Regions from separate parts of the Homo sapiens genome. Here all the other regions are linked to region 1. Evidence: promoter capture Hi-C in 16 types of primary human blood cells and fetal thymus (Javierre and others, 2016). All regions are on one chromosome and are shown on one strand. Each heading gives the region's core, a stretch centred on a gene start or on the middle of the fragment in contact. The rest is flanking DNA. Distances are from core to core; before and after follow the strand shown.

What was found. Contacts are between HindIII fragments. The CHiCAGO score rates a contact against its expected background, and 5 or more counts as called.
Region 2: a contact is called between a fragment that was not itself captured here and the fragment with the promoter of MPPE1 in region 1, in 1 of 17 cell types (naive B cells). The highest score is 5.7, in naive B cells.
Region 3: a fragment that was not itself captured here is called in contact with the fragment with the promoter of MPPE1 in region 1 in 2 of 17 cell types (total B cells and naive B cells); the score reaches 6.9 in total B cells.

The regions. Positions count from the first base shown.
Region 1 is chr18:11,906,731-11,910,566 of GRCh38, forward strand. MPPE1 (metallophosphoesterase 1) reads right to left here and starts at 1,587. Exons shown (of 11, transcript NM_023075.6): 1 at 1,471-1,587. It overlaps LOC101927511 (a long non-coding RNA gene), which reads right to left. Exons shown (of 4, transcript XR_007066296.1): 4 at 3,819-3,836. RefSeq lists a silencer at 1,980-2,379. The HindIII fragment of the contact is 5,797 bases long and covers 1-2,977 here.
Region 2 is chr18:11,726,804-11,730,639 of GRCh38, forward strand. All of the region lies in intron 1 of GNAL (G protein subunit alpha L), which reads left to right. Among named protein-coding and RNA genes, the nearest start is that of GNAL, 39 kb to the left of the region's middle. The HindIII fragment of the contact is 3,948 bases long and covers 179-3,836 here.
Region 3 is chr18:12,050,196-12,054,031 of GRCh38, forward strand. No RefSeq gene overlaps it. Among named protein-coding and RNA genes, the nearest start is that of ANKRD62, 42 kb to the right of the region's middle. RefSeq lists an enhancer at 366-555. The HindIII fragment of the contact is 286 bases long and covers 1,785-2,070 here.

The sequences.
Region 1 (3,836 bases), core at 337-2,836:
GTAATCCCAGCTACTCGGGAGGCTGAGGCAGGAGAATCGCTTGAATGCGGGAGGCGGAGGTTGTAGTGAGCCGAGATCGCGCCATTGCACTCCAGCCTGGGCAACAAGAGCGAAACTCCGTCTCAAAAAAAAAAAAAAAAAATTTATCTTTGAACTTTTCAATTTGTATTTATTTATTTATTTATTTTTAGAGATAGGGTCTCACTCCACCGCCCATTGTAAATCAAAAATGAAATCCTAAGACCCCTCAACCATCTGCATGGACCCCACCAAGGGCATTCCAGAGTTAACCTTGTTTTAGGTTGTTTTAAGCAAAACTTGTTTAGGCCATGATGGGAAGTGGGGGTGGAACTTGACACATTTCATCCTCCTCCCTTTTAGAATTCAGGAAAAGCAGACCAGCATTTAACATGCTGGACACTTAACTTACCTGGAGGCTTCATCTGCATGATAAAACTTCAGTCTCCACAGCCTCTTATTGTAACCCAAACATTCCTTTCCATTGATAATAAATCTTTCAACCAAATGCCAATCAGAAAATTTTCAATCTACCTATAACCCGGAAACCCCCGACCCACCCACCTCCTCAGCTGTCATACCTTTATGGACCGAACCAATGTACATCTTAATCTTACATGTATTTGACTGATGACTCATGGCTCCCCTAAAATGCATAAAACCACACTGGGCCCCGACCACCTTGCGTACGCGTTCTCAGGGTCTCCAAATGGCTGTGTCACCAGCCATGGTCACTCATATTTGGCTCAGAATTAATCCCTTCAAATATTTTATAGAGTTTTGACTTTTTGTCAACCGCAGGCTGCGTCACAGCTCGCTGCAGCCCCAAACTCCTGCGCTGAAGCGATCCTTTCCCCCACAACTTCTCGAGTAGCAGGGACTTCAGGTGCGTGCCACTACACCTGGCTTTTTTTTTTTTTTTTTTTGGTACTTTTGTTGTTATGGTGGGGGCGGGGGACTTGCTATGTTGCCCAGGCTGGTCTCGCATCTCTGGGATCAAGCCATCCTCCCACTTCAGCGTCCCAGAGTGCTGGAATTACAGGCCTAAGCAACGGCACCCAGCCTATCTTTTAATTTTTAACTTCAAAGTTATCGTTAAAAATCTAATCCCCCCAAAATATGAAAAAAATACTTAATATGCACTGACCTGTAGTTTTTCTCTAATTCACTATCTTAAATATATTAATTGCAATCTCATCAACTGCGACTTGCATTTGAAATTTTCCACCTTAAACGGTATTTTTTGATAAGATGGATTTTTTAAAAAATCTACACCAGCAAACTAGAGTGAGAGACCCCTGCAAAGTAATACATGGGCCTTAAGTCACCGAGATTTTCCAGCAAATAATTTGCAGAATGCTGTTTTTCCTAGGTTAACTTGCAATCCTAACACGGAAGGAGGTTCCGTTTTTAGAAGTTTAAATGTTGTCACACGGGCGCAAGAATACATACAACAGCCATGCTTTCCAGCTCTGCGCACAACGCCAGGCAGATGGGGAGCACCGGGCGGTGCGGGAGCCCTTTCACCAGGGCAGGGTGGCTTCGGTGGCCGAGGGACCCGGGAACTGCAGCCGGAGCCGGCGCGCACCCAGCCAACTTCCTGTTTCCGCGGTAGCGCGCGGGCCTGTCACTGAAGCCCCGCCCCGGCGACCTCAGGCGGGCGGGGAAGACCGAGTCTTCCCGGAGCCGCTTCGTCCGCCCGGCGCCGGAGTCCCACGGCCGGTTTGCGGAAGCGGGTCGTCTGAAGGGGCCCGGCGGGTGGCTCCCGGGTCTCCGCGGCCTGTGATCCCCAGAGCGGACAACCGCAGCTGGGGCTCCGTGCGCAACTCGGAGTAAAGGCCGGAACCTACGCTCGGCGGCCGCGTCCCGGCCCCTAGCGCCCTCCGCGAAGTGCCTGGCAGGCTCGGCAGTCTGAGTGTCGCGTTACAGAGTCCCCTGGGCAGTCACCGCTGAAGGGCGGGGGACGCGGGAAAGGCATTTTGGGGACACAGGAGAGCTGCGAGGGCGAAGCACGGGCGAGCTGTCGTTAGGGCCCAGGAAAGGCCCGTTGCGGGGCGCACAGGCGGGCAGGGGAACTCGCGCCCCGCGCCGCGCGCCCGGCCTCCTGACGCCAGGGCCGGCTTCTGAGCACAGCCACCGCGGCGGCCGGGGGCGGCCACTGCTCCCCGCGAGCCCGCTTCCGCGCCCCAGAAGCCCCCAGAGCCCGCGTCCGAGCTCCAGGCCTTGGAGGAGCCAGGCGGGCAGCTGACAGCCCCGGAGCCGCTCCCGGGTTCCGCGCGCGGTGGCAGCCAGGCCGTGCCTCCCCGTTCCCCTCCCGCGCCGCGCTGCCCCTCCGGGACCCACCAGGCCTGGCTGCGCCTCTTTCCTCTCCTCCCCCGGAGCCTTGGAAAGTGCCCTCCAGAGATGTGCTTAGGAAGTGTGTGATGAATAAAGGAGACAATCAGGATAACTATAATATTTATTATGCACTTGCTTTTTTCTCACTGATGTTACTAATTTTAATGGTGTAGCGCGGCGCGTTCCAGTTTTCTAAGTGCTCTCACATCCGTTCAAAAAATCCTCAAAATAAGCCTGTATATTAAAAGCAGGAGCCATTATTTCATATTTCAAGAAGTAAACATGCTCAGAGTAATAATCCACATAGAGCCTTCCAACCAGTCAATTCTGGTACATTTTCACAAATCTATGAGTGTGGTTAATACACGGAGATGTGGTTTGAGGAATTATATAGGACACAGCCAGCAAAATGCCTGGTATACAATAAGTATGCGGTAAATGGTTATTATTATTAAGAATATTGTAATATCTTCAGATATGATCAGGTGAACAACTTTGACATAATCGAAACTGGGACAGCCTGATTCCATAAACACACTAATATGGCACCGTGGATTGTTTGCAGCCTCACCTCTAAAGTATTCTCTCTGACTAACAAAGAAAGGGAAACTAGAACCAGTTAAGCTTATAACACTAATCACAGGCTAAAGGAAATACAGGGGCCAAATGAACCCATTAGATTACACCACCAGGAAGTAATCTGCCAAATCCAGAATGTGGGAAATTCTACAAACCAAATGACCCAATTTCTTTTTTCAAAAATAAATGTTCAGAGGCTGAAGTGGGAGGATTGCTTAAGGCCAGAGTTCAAGGCTGTAGTGAGCTATGATCACAGCTGTGAATAGCCACTGCACTCCAGGCTGGGCAACACAGCTAGACCCCCCATGTCTTTAAAAAAAAGAGGGTGGGGGGACCTTGAGAGACACATTAGCCAAATGCAATTTGTGGACCTTGTTTGGGTCATGATTAAGACAAACAAACTTTTACATAAATAAATGGCATTTTTAAAAACATTGGCGGCCAGGCGCGGTGGTTCTTGCCTGTAATGCCAGCACTTTGGGAGGCCGAGGCGGGCAGATCAGGAGGTCAGGAGATCAAGACCATCCTGGCTAACACGGTGAAACCCCGTCTCTACTAAAAAAAAAAAAAAAAAAAAAAAAATTAGCCGGGTGTAGTGGCAGGTGCCTGTAGTCCCAGCTACTCGGGAGGTTGAGGCAGGAGAATGGTGTGAACCCGGGAGGCAGAGCTTGCAGTGAGCCCAGATCACGCCACTGCACTCCAGCCTGGGCGACAGAGTGAGACTCCATCTCAAAAAAAAAAAAAAAAATTGGGAAACTTAAACATGGACTGAATGTTAGGTGACATTAAATAACTTCAGGTAATTTTATTACGATAATACCATAGTGGCTATGATTTTTAAAGGCCTCAGAGAAACATATTAACATATTTACAGGCAAATTATATTATTTCTGGGATTTGCT
Region 2 (3,836 bases), core at 903-3,402, 180 kb before region 1:
AAATCACACTGCCTTCATTGTTTGTTTTAAAATAATCAAAATGAATCCTAGCCAAAACCCCAGTGTTTAAGACATAAAATCAAGCCTGTGCTGGTTGGACAGAATGGGACAGGTTGTAAGGAAAAGTAGTCTTTTTTTTTTTTCTTAAGGTTAGAAAACATTTGAGATCAGCCAGCAAAGCTTTCTTTAGTGACACCAGGAACCAGGCTGCTTGGGGTCCTCAGTAGCAGCCTCTGTGTGCGTCCTCCACACCCCCAGCCCTAGTCCGCGCTGGGTGCCCCTCCCTCCTTGCTGTTCAGTGTGGGCCCTTCCCTGCTTACACCCTGTGCCCTCTGCTCTCACTGGGTCCCCACTACCACCCTGCCCAGCCCTGCAAGGCCCTTCCCTAGGCTCAGCAGCTTCCCTGCGCACCCTCTCTGCCAGCTTCTCTGCTGCTCTCCATCTGGGCGGAGCCGCAGGGTGTCAGGCATCCCAAGCCTGGGAGTCCCCACACTTTCCCACCTGCCTTGTGGGGTAGCAGCCCCAGACCCTGTCCCTGGGCCGTCTTTTTATTTCTTTATCTACCAGCTACCTTTTCAAATAAATGTGAGCCCTGGAGTTTGAGACCAACCTGGGCAAGAGACCCCTCTCTACAAAAAATAAAAAATTTCCTGGGCATGGTGGTGCCCACCTGTGGTCCTAGCTGTTCCAGTAACGGATGGGCTGCAGCTTCTGCTCCCCTCATCTTCTGCCTAAACCGGGACCCCAAACGGAAATGATAAGCCTGAAACTCAAAGGCAGAATGTCGGATGTGGAGGCATTTATTGAGCCAATTGTATAAGGATATTGTACATCTCTTGTTTTAATCCAGACCCTTTTCCATTGTAAATGGTAGAATTCTAACTCAAACAAGTGTAAGGTAGAGAGGAGGAGTTTTTTTGACTCAGGTAATCAGGGTTTTAAAGGCAAAAAGTGGGGAAAGAGAGTAGTCTGATACAAAATTATTTGTCAGGAATTTTCATTCGTTTACAGAAGTAACATTGATTAGTAACTGGCTATACATTTTAACCTATGGAGTGTGGGCTATGGTGTCCAGTGTGGCATTGTTAAGTTAATTTATAGCTATTTGTGGCAACAGAAGGCAGTTTTAAGAGATGAATACAGGCTGGCATGATGGCTCGTGCCTATAACCCCAACAATCTGGGATGCTGAGGCAGGAAGATCACTTGAGGCCAGGAGTTCGAGACCAGCCTGGGCAACATAGGCAGAGTTTGTCTCTATAAAAAATCAAAAAATTAGCTGGGTGTGGTGATCTGTGCCTGTGGTCCCAGCTACTCAGGAGGATCCCTTGAGCCCAGGAGATTGAGGCCACAGTGCGCTGTGATCACACCACTCCACTCCAGCCTGGGTAACAGAGTAAGACCCTATGTCTTTAATTAACAACAGCAACAAAAGATGAATACATAGCTCAAAATGGTAGTGCAAGCAGGGGGTGGGGTGGGGGGAGTAAGGCATGATTGTTGTCTCATTTTAATGTCTCTCTGAGCCTGATGATTTAAAAGGACTCACATTCTTCAGGCAAAAGTTATTTACTTTTGGAAGTCCACCTGCTCTCACAGCCAGTGTCATGTAAGCTCTCTCCCCTGTCTTGATTCTGCCCTCTTCTGGCTGCATTTTTACACTTGCTTCCAGGAGCTCCACCTTCATCAAGTCTCAGCAGCACAGTGGAGAGAGGCTCTGGGGGCTCATTGCAATTCTGAGTTGGACAACTCAGGCGGGAGCTTAGAATTGTTTCTAACAGGTGTTTGTTCTTGTCCCAAACCTCAAAGTTTCTTTTTAAGATAAATCTGCTTAATAGTTTCTACAATTATTTCTGAACTTCATTTCACCCTCAGTCTTTGCACAGACATTGATTCCTTCACATTGTTCTTTTATTTTCTTACAGTGATGATACAGACAGAAATACAGATATTTGCTACATCTCTGTAAGAAAATGTAATATTCCTGGATTCCTGTCTTAGACGATGAGTTTTATATTGTGTAATACAAATCAATATTGCAAGCAAAAGACATTTATACATTTTGAAAACAAATTGTTTCCTTGGGAGCCTGCTGATGAAAGGCTGACTCCTCTTGGGAGAAATCACTCAAAGCTCTGAGAGTTTAAACACACTGGGATGGGATGGACGAGTTAGTACTGGTTAGTAGATAAAGTCTCCAAGAAACATCAGAGCCATTTGGGTGGGGAAGGGATCTCCAGCATCATATTTTTGATTTGCTCTTTGGTGTTTTTATTGATGATTTGGTATTTGGCCGCAAACGAGATAGTTAACCCAGATTTCTAAAATCCTGGAACTGAACATTTAGAATATGAAGACTGTGAGATCATAGGTTCATAGATGTGTTGGGTACAACATCTTCCATCAAAGAGAAAGGGGACATTTTTTTCCTGAGCGGTTAGAAGGAAAACATGCTTCCTGCCTATGGAGCAGTGGTCTTAGCGCTCCTCTTGCCCCACCTGTGTGGGTTTTCACTCTTTTGCCCACTCTGCCTTCCCTAAGCACAGTGAACCAGCTGGAGGATGCTCTCTGCTCACCAATTCCAGAGCTTCCCCGGCTTCCTCTGCCCTTGGAATCCCTCTCCCACACTCCTAAGTAGCCAGATCCTCTCCAGATTTAACGGTCGATTACAAGTGTTACCTCCTCTTTGAAACATTTTCTGACCCTCTGTGTTGGAAGTGCTCTTCCTTAAGTTTCCACTCGTTTTATTATGTACTTCCTTCATAATACTCATTACCTTTTATTGTAGATATTTGTAAGTTTCACTTAAATGCATTAGCAGATTATATATTCTGTGCGAGCCATATCCATTCTGATTCATTTCTGTATCCTCCACACCACCCAGCAGAATCTGGCATAAAATGCTGTAAACAGGAAAACCAAACCTTGTAAAATATTTTATTAATAAAGAGGTTTATTCTGAGCCAATGTGGCTGCTCGCGGCTGGCAGAAAACACAAACCCAGGAAGCCTTGATTAAGTCGCCCCGAGGCAGTTGGGTTACAGCTTGATTTTACACATTAGGGAGACTGGAGTTGCAGGTAAAATCATAAAGCAACACATGGAAATTCTACATTAATTTGGCCCAAAAAGGCGAGACATCTGGAAGCAGAGGCTTACAAGTCATAGGTGGGTTTTAGGGATTCTTTATTTAGTTGGCAATGGGTTGAAAGAGTTAAGTTTTTCTTTTCTTTTCTTTTCTTTTTTTTTTGAGACAGAGTCTCGCTCTTTCGCCCAGGCCGAACTGCAGTGGCGCTATCTCGGCTCACTGCAAGCTCTGCCTCCCAGGTTCACAACATTCTCCTGCCTCAGCCTCCCACTTTTTTTTTTTTTTTTTGAGGCAGAGTATCCCTCTGTCACCCAAGCTGGAGTGCAGTGGCACGATCTCAGCTCACTGCAGCCTCCACCTCCCAGGTTCAAGCGATTCTTCTGCCTCAGCCTCCTGAGTAGCTGGGATTACAGGTGCCGGCACCACGCCCAGCTAATTTTTGTAGTTTTAGTAGAGATGGGGGTTTCCCCACGTTGGCCACGCTGGTCTCGAACTCCTGATCTCAGGTAATCTGCCTGCCTCGGCCTCCCAAAATGCCGGGATCACAGGTGTGAGCCACCATACCTGGCCAAGTTAAGTTTTTCTAAAGACTTGCTGGGCACAGTGGCTCACGCCTGTAATCCCAGCACTTTGGGAGGCCAACGCAGGTGGATCACCTGAGGTCAGGAGTTCGAGACCAGCCTGGCCAACATGGTGAAACCCCATCTCTACTAAAAATACAAAAATTAGCCAGGCATGGTGGCATGCACC
Region 3 (3,836 bases), core at 678-3,177, 140 kb after region 1:
GAAGCTAGGCAAATACTGAAACTTGCAACCACAATATCTCATTACTTTGCTGAATAAATTGTATAAATTTAAAATAGAAAAGTCACAGCACTCCCTGCCTAGGCCAAGTAACTATTGGTAGTGCTCACAAGCCTGCAGGGCTTGGAGGATCTCCTGATCCCAGGCAGTACCTTCAAGTCCCAAATGTTGTGGAAGTGCAAAGGATCTCCCAGGCACGCTATTAGCCTTTGCCTTTGGAGCTCCACAGCCACTATCTTATTGGAGTAGCTGTAGTTGCAGATCTCAGTTCCCTTTTTCAAGTGGCAAACCTTTAGCTTCCTCTGAGCTTTGAGGTTCAAAATGGCCACTAAGGTGCTTGACAACAATTTTCTATAATGCACGCATCTTCGGTATCAGTGCAATTCAGGGATCTGTTCCAGCTTATCCACAGAAGAAGGGAGAAAAATTTATAACTGGACTTACTACCCACAGCTAGGGATGTGTCCTTGTTGGAGTTGGCCCAGCTGGCACCGGCCTCTGATCTGGCTCCCCCGGTTCACAGCTGGGTGCACAGGGGTTGCGATGTGCTCAGGGTGTGCGCCAGTCCCACTTTCTGCCTCGGTGGCTGCCACTACCTCTCTGGGATCAGCCACAACCTTGTCCCGTCCCTCCTTGTTTTTCTAGTTTCTTGAAGTAGAAAGTTAATTATCGTTTTGAGGCCTTTCCTCTTTTCTGAGGTTAACATTTAGTGCTGTTAATTTCCCTATCAGCAGGGCTTTATTCAATTCCATGAATTTCTAAAATTTATTTTGAGGCTTTTTCTTTGATCCAAATATTATTTAGAAGTCTGTTGTTTCATTTCCAAGTGGTTGGATATTTTGCTGTTGTCTTTCTACTATGAATTAATTCATAGTTTGATTCATTTCATTATGGCCAGAAAACACACTCGGAATGATTTCAGTTCTTTTATACCTGCTGAGGTTGGTTTATGGCCCAGGATATGGTTTATCTTCCTGAATAGTCCATGAGCACTTGAGAAAAAGTGTATATTTTGCTGTTGGGCACTGTTCCGTAAATGTTGCTTCTACCCTATTGGTTGATGGTGCTCTCCTGTTCTATGTCTGCTAGTAATTTAACGCCTAGTGATTCTACCAACTGCTGAGAGTGAGGTGGTCAGACTTACAACTAGAATTTAAAATGTGCCTATTTCTCCTTTCAGCTCAGTCAGTTTTATTTTGTGTACTTTGAGGTTCTTTTGTTTGGTGGGGACATATTTAGGATAACTGCATTTTTGTTGGATTGATACTTTTATCGTTATATAGTGATCTTTTTGCCCACGAGTTTTCTTTGCTCTAGAGTCGACTTTATGTGATATCAATGGGGCCACTCTTACTTTGATTTGAATAATGTTTGTATGGTATATCTTTTTCTATTCTTTATCAACTCATGTTGTTAACTATGTTATGAATTTCCTATAAATATTTTAGAATTATGTTTCTTGTTCTTTCCACTCTGTCAATTTGTATTTTGATACACATTGATTATTTACATTTAAGATAAATATTGCTATGTTAGGCTGCTATTTTATTTGTTTTGTTTTCTCGGTTTTTCATTCATCTATTACCATTTTCTTATTTTCCTGTTGGTTATATCAACATTTTTTAGATTCCATCTTGTTTATTTGCAGTGTTTCTAAGCACAATACTCTTTATCGTTTTCTTAGCAGTTCTAGATATTAAAGTGTGCATATGTAACTTATCACAGTCTATTAGTCAGCATTTTACCACTTCAAGTGAAATGTAGAAAGCTTCATTCTACTTAGATCCCTTTACCCTCCCCCCTTTTAAATAGAATTAAGTATTTCCTCTACATACAGAGCATTTTTCTCCAAACATCAAATATGATGTCAGAAACTCATGAGAAACAGATTCTATTACATTTCCCCCTATTTCTGCCAACCTCCAATGTTCTTTCTTTCCTGTGTTCCCAGCCTTCCTGCGTTATATACTTTCTATTTAGAGAACCTCCTCTAGTCATCTTTTTAAAGGTAGGTTTGCTAGCAACATTTTCTCTTAGTTTTCCTGTCTGGTAAGCTTTTTATTTCCCTTTGTTCATGAATATAGTTTCAAAAGATAGAGAATTTTGTTATGGTTCTTTTCTTTCAGTATCTGAGAAAATGTCCTACACTTCCTTCTGGCCACCATGGATTCAGATGAGAAATCTGCCATTCTTTTATGTAGGGAATGTGTTATTTATCTCTGGTTACTCTGAAGATTTTGTCTTTAGTTTTCAAAAATTTAATTATGATTTGCCTTCACCATGGATTTATTTAAAATTATCTTATTTGATGTTATCTCAGATTCTTGAATGTGTAGTTTCATAACTTTTGCTAAATTTGGGACATTTTCAGCCATTATTTTTTAAAATACTTTAAATACCTCTCTCCTTTCCTTCTGGTACTCTGATGTTACAAATATTCGTTATATGGTTATCACCCCACTTTCTAAATATTGAGAGAATCAAATCTCGTCTCATTCCCTTTAGGCCTTTCGGTTTTGTCCAAGCCACCACAATCACTCAGGAGGGAAACGACCACAGCTCCTTAATGAGCTCTATATGTTATGCCCTGCCTAGTATTTTCTCTATAGAGAAAATATACAGAAATATAGAGAAAACTCCCATACAAACATAAACCAGACGTTGCTCATTTGTTGAAAATCTACCACTAAATTAAGAATAAAATGAATTTACTGAATAAAGCTTACGATAGGCTCACCTTTGGAGTCTACTGCCTCCTGACATCACCTCCTGCCTTCTCCCTTCAGCCACTGCGACTTTTTTTGTTATTCCTCAAAACCACCAAGCACATTCCTGCCCATGGCTAGCAGCTGCTGTTACCCCTGCTAAAAAGAGGCAGAATCCTCATGTCTCACAGTCATTTCAGTCAAATTTCTGCTCTTCTGTTGATCTCAGTAAAGTTTCCCATGACTATTCCTTCAAGAAGCCCACTCAGTCTAATCTTGCTTTATTTTTTTTAATAGTCTTTAAAACCACAGAACATTTAATATACATGAACATCTGTTTATGTGTTTAGTGCTACTTCTGTGAATTCATTTAGAGGCAAAAAATTATCAAGTCTGCACAACATACCTGAAACGATTATAATTTCTGGAAATACTAAGATTACTAAAAACCTTCTTGTATTCATGGAGCATAAAGTCTGGTAAGAAAATATGTTACAATGGTGAAAATACACAGAAGATTGGCTAATTCTATAAATAAGGAAGTAAGTTGGTTCTGTTTTGAGCTTCACTGAGGAAGCACAGCTGTTGGTTGAAGTATTAGTATGCTGTGTCCTTCATAAGCACAGAGCCATGGCACAGGCAAAGGTGGGGGCCTCCAGCACGTAAAAAATTAGCAAAAGGGCAAACAGCACAGGAGATGAGAATATGGCCTGGTGCCTTCATGAGAAAAATGGCCAGGGAAGTATTCAGGGAATGGGCTACAGAGCAACAGACTCCAAAGCATTTGATCATTTACTATTTTCTAGAATATTATTCAGCATTACAGATTTATATTTAAAAATTATAAAAATAAATAATAAATTCATTTATTATAAATAATTCTTATTTGGATTTTAAAATGAAGAAAACAGCCTAATATTTTATTTATTTTATTGCAATATGTATTCTGGGTTCTAATCCTTTAATTCAGAGACAATAAGGATGTGTAGAAAATGGAAAGATTTTTGAACTGTTATACTTGAAATTTCTGCAGAGTATATAGGAGATGACCAGTTGGATCTTTCTGAAGATCCTCTAAGTGTACGCCTCTTCTAGGGATCACTGCTATGGAAA